Linked DNA regions of Homo sapiens: region 1 is linked to region 2. The links are contacts of gene promoters, found by promoter capture Hi-C in human tissues and cell types (Jung and others, 2019). All regions are on one chromosome and are shown on one strand. The core of a region is centred on a gene start or on the middle of the fragment in contact, and the rest is flanking DNA. Distances in the headings are between cores, read along the strand shown.

Region 1 (3,460 bases), core at 730-3,229, 410 kb before region 2:
GAAACCAGGTTGCCCCTGTAGCACCTCCGGCAAGTAAACTACAGGGCAGGATAAAAGACAAAGAATGGAGCATCCTTCCTACATGAATTCACATGGGTCTTGAGTCCCCACAATTCATTCCCTCCCTCCCCTGCCACAACCATTTGAAGGTTGGAGACCAAAATGCAACTTCTGTTTGTAGGTGGCCCTCCCCTCTTACCCCAACACCTCTCTGAGGCTCAGGTTCTACTGACACCCCCAGGGCCCTCAATGGGAAAAAGAGCCAGTGATAGCAATGCTGGGGGCATATCCCACACCCGTTCCATGCTCCCACCTCAGCCTCAGCCATAGGCCACTCACCCAAGCTTGACTAAACGTCTGAAGACTTCTCACCAGGAGGTAGCGGCAGGTCTGGCACCCAGGGATGCCCACCACTTTTACTGTGTCCTCTTCCTCAGGACACGTAAGGTTTTTGTCCACCATATCTGGCACTGAGATAGACTCAACAGCCCCATCTTTCTTGGAGGCATCTTCACTTCCAGAGCCCCACTCCTCCTCTTCCTCCAGCTCCCTGCAAGGGGTCTCCTCCATCTCCTGCTCTGGTGTCTCCTCATCCTCAGGCAGCGTCTTAGCACCCAAAGGGGTCTCAAAGGTGGAAGTCTCAGACCCTGGCAGGGAGGATAGCTAAGTGTCCTTCCTTCACATCTCCCCTTGTTCCTCCCCAGAACCACAGACAGCTCACACCTTGCCCTGGGCATCAGAGTGCTCAACTCTGCCTGGGAAGGGGAACCTGGAACCCAGTCTCTATGAGGGGAACCCAAGCTGCCTGACAAGGTCAAGGTGGTTAAGAGCATGGACTTAGAGTCGGGCAGTCATGGGCTTGGGTACTGGTTCCATCATCCACCAGCTGTATTTCTGTGAAATGGGTATACAATACCACCTACTTCATGGCGATGCTAAGAGAGTTAAAGGAGAGAAGGCACTCAGTAAGCTCAAAGTAAGCATAATGGAGAAAGGACAAAATTGGGAATGTCACAGTAGAACCAAGACCACAGACATAACAGACGCCTTGAGAAATCCTTTCAACTCCTGGCCATAGAGTCCCCATCCCTTTAAGCACACAGAAATTCAGAAATAGAAGACGATCAAAGAAGGGGGTGGGTGTGTAACTCTGACCCCATCTACCATAGAAAGGGAAAAAACAGAGAAAGAAAGACTGAAGGCAAAAAACACTTACTTAGATGAAGAGCAGAAACTGCCCCAAATAGAAGAGCCAGAAGTAAGGGGAGTTTCATCTTGGCTTTATCCTGCAACGGAGAACACAGTTTGTCATTGACACACACAGACACACATGCACACACATCACAATCACACCATTAGGGGACCGTGGGAGTGAGGTGGAGAAAAAGAAGGCCTGAATAGAAATCAGGATGGGCCAGAAAAGCTCATGCCAAGCCCAGCTCCTGATGCTCCAGGATCCAGGACGCAAGGACCTCTTTCTAAACAGAACGCAGCAAACCCTGAGGGGTGGCTGAGGCTGGCTTTCCTTCAGGCCCGGAAGTAAAGAAGGGACTATTACGCTTATTTGTTTGTACTTAATGGGTCCCTCAGAGTCTATGACATAAAAAAGGCGGGAGAAGCAATGATTATTGGCTTTCCTAGGAACACATAGGACTTAGAAGGTATGTCCCCTCCTCAGAGTTCAAGAAGCCACCCACACCCTCCTCCATGTCTCCACCATCTCCTTTCCCCAGCCAAGGAGCACTTTCACATCCCGCAGAAGGAATGTGCAAGGCAGAGGATGAAGGCTGCCCCTGCTGACATCCTCATAACCTGAAAGCCACAGGTAGACGCCTGCCAGCCCTCCAGAAACTGTCAGCCACAGCCAGGGACCTCCTGGGAGAATAAACTGTCACCAGCTCCACCACAGCAGAGAAAGCACTCACCCACCCAGAGACCTTCCTGGGTCTTTAGATCTTCCCAAAGCCCAGGTCCTTCTTTGCTTCCTCTCACAAAGACTTCTTATATAGAGGCCTTGGAGGAACTTCCCCCAGGGAGAGAGAGTTTGCCTCTGTCAGAGGGAGATAGCAAGGCTGATAAGGACCATTTCATCACTTCCCTGGGGAGCCCACTCATTCATTCAGTGAAGATTTCTCTCCCGATACCCACTTCAGGAACCCAGGGGCCATCTGGAACAGCTCTGGGCAATGGTTCTTATCCTGGGCTACACTTCAGAATCGCCTTGGGTGCTTTTCCAAAATACATATCTCCCCTGTTTTACTGGTGTTTTGAACTGCCACAAACATTTTGAGAACAAATCTGTCCATACCTATTAAAATAAAAAAATGCACATTTGATCAGTTTCACTCTTTTGAGACTATCCTTTAGGCATAAATGCGCCTATAAGTAATAAAACTTTTACAGAGTTATGTTATTCCTTGACTATTTGTAGAAATGAAAACAATATTGATATCCATCAATCGGACACTGAGTAAAATGTGTCCTCTCTATTCTACAGAATGTTATATGGCTATGAAAAGAAGAGCTGGACCTGTATCTATAAACCTGAAGAGATGTTTCTGTGACATGAAGTGAAAAAAGGCAAGATACTGAGGAAAGTATTTAGTATGTGAATAGTTTTACAAGGAAAAAAAAAACCCCCGCATAGGTGCTTATCTGTGAGCATCCTTATGTGACCATTGATGGAGGGAATGCTAAAAGGAATCACACCAAATAGTTGACCTTGTTGCCTCCAGAAGCAGGGGAGGAGAGGGAAGAAAGCAGGAGACAGATTGTTGTTTATCTTCTTTTTATAACTTTGCATTTCTTCAGTGGTTATGGTAAATGCGTGCTGAATCTGTAATTTTGAGGCTGCCTTATTAAAGATTTTTAAAAATATGCAGATGCCCTGCCCAGAAACTTCTGCTTGGCTAATAGGTCTAGCGTGAAGGTCAGATGTCTGCATTTTTTTAAAAGCTTCCCAGCTGACTGTGATGGAAGATGGGTCTAGGAGTCACTGTCCTGAGGATCTTCAAGTACAGGAAATGTTCACGTATGTCTAACTTCTTTCCTTCTGAATCAGACCACTCAGTTGGCCAACCTACCAGCCTTCATTATGGTAACATTTACTGAACATTTTTAAATGCCATGCATGGCAAGTGGCTGGATGCAGTGGCTCATGCCTGTGATCCCAGCACTTTGGGAGGCTGAGGTGGGTGGATCTTTTGAGGTCAGGAGGTTGAGACCAGCCTGGTCAACATTGCAAAGCCTTGTCTCTACTAAAAATACAAAAATTAGTCAGGCATAGGGGTGGCTGCCTGTAATCCCAGCTACTTGGGAGTCTGAGGCAGGAGAATCACTTGAACCCAGGAAGTAGAGGTTGCAGTGAGCTGAGATTGCACCACTGCACTCCAGCTTGGGCGAGAGAGTGAGACTCCGTTTCAATCAATCATCAATCAACAAAATACTGTTCATGGCAAGT
Region 2 (3,204 bases), core at 388-2,887:
GAGGAGGTGCCATCGGATCAATACTACTGGGCTCCTTTGGCCCAGCATGAGCGAGGAAGTTTAGCAAGCTTGGATAGCCTGCGCAAAGGAGGGCCTCCACCTCCTAATTGGAGACAGCCAGAGCTGCCAGAGGTGATCGCCATGCTTGGATTCCGCTTGGATGCTGTCAAGTCCAATGCAGCTGCATACCTGCAACACTTATGCTACCGCAATGACAAGGTGAAGACTGACGTGCGGAAGCTCAAGGGCATCCCAGTACTGGTGGGATTGTTAGACCATCCCAAAAAGGAAGTGCACCTTGGAGCCTGTGGAGCTCTCAAGAATATCTCTTTTGGACGTGACCAGGATAACAAGATTGCCATAAAAAACTGTGATGGTGTGCCTGCCCTTGTGCGATTGCTTCGAAAGGCTCGTGATATGGACCTTACTGAAGTTATTACCGGTGAGTTCTAGGCCTAAGGAAAATTGCTAAGTCAGTGTTACTCTCTAGTGATGTTGAGAACTAGAGGGATTTCCAGACCTTTTACTTTTGATGAAAGGTTGTGAACTGGTGGCTGTGGGTCAAATCCATCTCACAGATTTGTTTGGATCACACAGCATTATTGAAATTTTAAAGAACTGGTTGCTGATGTTTAAAATTCAGAAGATTTCACTTAAAATTCCAGATTCTTGGCTTCTATTAAAAACGTGGAAGAGTTGTTAACAATGGATCTCTTTTCTTCCTTAGCAGTATTTGGTCTGAACTGATTGGAGCATGTGCTCTCTAATTTACACTAATCTCCAACACATTCTATTATCTGACCAACTACAGCTGTTTAGGAAGTTGTTTCCCAAACATGGAGCTGTCAACTGCTATTTTTTCACATGCTTGTAATTTCTTTTAATTATCTTCCTCTCTTGACTCACCGGCTTGACCCATATAGACATTTAAGCTTGTGGTTCTTGCTTTATTTAGAGCAGTAGTTTTTCAGATTGTGGGTTGTGATCTATTTGTGTGATCCGTTAGTGAATAAAACAAAATTTTGTGGAGCATAATCAGCATTCCAAGGGAAAGGAATAAAGAAAAAGTAGTATAGACCATTGTTTCTCAGTTGTGGGCCATTTTGCCTGCCCTGCCCTGAGGACATTTGGACATTTGCAGTGTTGGAGATATTTTTGGTTGTTATAACTTGGAACAGGGGAGAGGGAGTGCTACTGGCATCTAGTGAGTAAAGGCCAGGGGTACTGGTAAACATCCAACAATAGACAAGACAGCTCCTCATAACAAAGAATCATCTGGCCGAAAATGTCAGTGGTGCTGAGGTTGAAAAACTCTGGTATAGACAGATCGGAGAGCATTGAGCATTGCTTATAGTTTTGTTTGTTTTTTTTGAGATGGAGTCTCGCTCTGTCACCCAGGCTGGAGTGCAGTGGCACAATCTCAGCTCACCGCAAGCTCCGCCTCATGGGTTCACGCCATTCTCCTGCCTCAGCCTCCCAAGTAGCTGGGACTACAGGTGCCCGCCACCACGCCCGGCTAATTTTTTGTATTTTTAGTGTTAGCCAGGATGGTCTTGATCTCCCAACCTTGTGATCCGCCCGCCTTGGCCTCCCAAATTGCTGGGATTACAGGCGTGAGCCACCACACCCAGCCTGAGCGTTGCTTATAGTTAAACATTGTTTGTTTCATGATCTGTATGTTTATTTTGAGCTATAATGTAGAATATGTTTCTTGGTGAGGGTCGCAAACAAAGCTTGAATATTACTATAAGGTATTTGGTCACTGGGGAAGACTGAGAAGTGATACGATAGGGGGATTCTCTTTGACGTTCTTCAGACATATTGTCTTGAATGCTCAAGAGCCATCTGATGAATTGTCTCTTCCAGGAACCCTGTGGAATCTTTCATCCCATGACTCAATCAAAATGGAGATTGTGGACCATGCACTGCATGCCTTGACAGATGAAGTGATCATTCCTCATTCTGGTTGGGAGCGGGAACCTAATGAAGACTGTAAGCCACGCCACATTGAGTGGGAATCGGTGCTCACCAACACAGCTGGCTGCCTTAGGTAACAGTAGGGACTTTGAGAATATGAAGATGAATTTTTGAGGACTGACTTAAATTTCCTAAAAAAAAAAAAAAATTAAAATTCTTTAGCCTATTCTTTAGCCTCCATTCCTATCTGTATTGCATACTGTAACTCCAACCTTTCTATCTTTGTTGCTATTCTCTCATGTATACCACATGTACCTATATCAGTTTTCTTGCTGTTCCCCACACATCCTCTTCACTTTTATGCCTCTTTGACTTTGTTCATCTACTTTGGTAAGCTTTTGTTCAGCATCTACCACATGTAAGGTGGTCTAGTCCTGGACTTGTGTGTGTCTATGTCCTTGCCCTAGTTATTTGTATTTCAAGTCAGGCTGTGATAAATTCAGCAAAAGGGGTACAGAGTACTAGGAGGTTAGGGCATGGGTGAGGAAGGTCTGTTCTTTCTGTGATGCCTTTCTCTTCTTATTTATCTTTTTGTGGTTAAACTCAAGTGCCTTTATTTTATTAAAGTTTTCCTGAATTCTTTTTATATCCTATAAATGCTGCTATATAATCTTTCTCTCTTTGGAATACACCTCTGTGTGCTGTGTTCCATTCTACATATGTATTATATACTTCCATACGAGAAGTATATATTCCATCTTGAATTACTGCATCTGGTACATATCATTAATCCCTACCCCACAGTGATATAAACATTCAGAAGGCAGGGACTGTTAATCAACTTTCTCTCAACTGCAGTACCTTGCTTATAATAGGTATTTACTATTACAGTGAGTAGAAAAACATATTCAGGAATCTTGTAGGTGTTGAGGGATATTTAAGGGAGGATTTCTGGATTTGAGTCATCTTGAAGCTTCTGGTTTCCCCTCAGGAATGTAAGCTCAGAGAGGAGTGAAGCTCGCCGGAAACTTCGGGAATGTGATGGTTTAGTTGATGCCCTCATTTTCATTGTTCAGGCTGAGATTGGGCAGAAGGATTCAGACAGCAAGGTAAGTGCTGTCTTACCTTTAATGGCTGAGTGAATTTCATTCACCACAACTATGAAGTATCTGTAGGTCAGAGACCTATCATCTCAGGCTTTCAAGTAACATTAAATATTTATACTGTCCCCTACCCCTTATTTTTGAGACAGAGTCTTGCTCTGTTGCCCAGCCTGGGGTGCAGTGA

What was found. The method cuts DNA at HindIII sites, captures the fragments that hold promoters and counts their contacts. A contact is called where the count stands out against the background at its distance.
Region 1: a contact is called between the fragment with the promoter of PRG2 here and a fragment that was not itself captured in region 2, in 1 of the 25 tissues and cell types used here (spleen).

The regions. Positions count from the first base shown.
Region 1 is chr11:57,388,671-57,392,130 of GRCh38, forward strand. PRG2 (proteoglycan 2, pro eosinophil major basic protein) reads right to left here and starts at 1,980. Exons shown (of 6, transcript NM_002728.6): 1 at 1,926-1,980; 2 at 1,217-1,286; 3 at 340-647; 4 at 1-38. The coding sequence starts at 1,274. The HindIII fragment of the contact is 9,070 bases long and covers 1-3,460 here.
Region 2 is chr11:57,801,755-57,804,958 of GRCh38, forward strand. It overlaps CTNND1 (catenin delta 1), which reads left to right. Exons shown (of 21, transcript NM_001085458.2): 7 at 1-442; 8 at 1,867-2,050; 9 at 2,909-3,026. It overlaps TMX2-CTNND1 (TMX2-CTNND1 readthrough (NMD candidate)), which reads left to right. Exons shown (of 21, transcript NR_037646.1): 8 at 1-442; 9 at 1,867-2,050; 10 at 2,909-3,026. Among named protein-coding and RNA genes, the nearest start is that of CTNND1, 42 kb to the left of the region's middle. The HindIII fragment of the contact is 3,742 bases long and covers 1-3,204 here.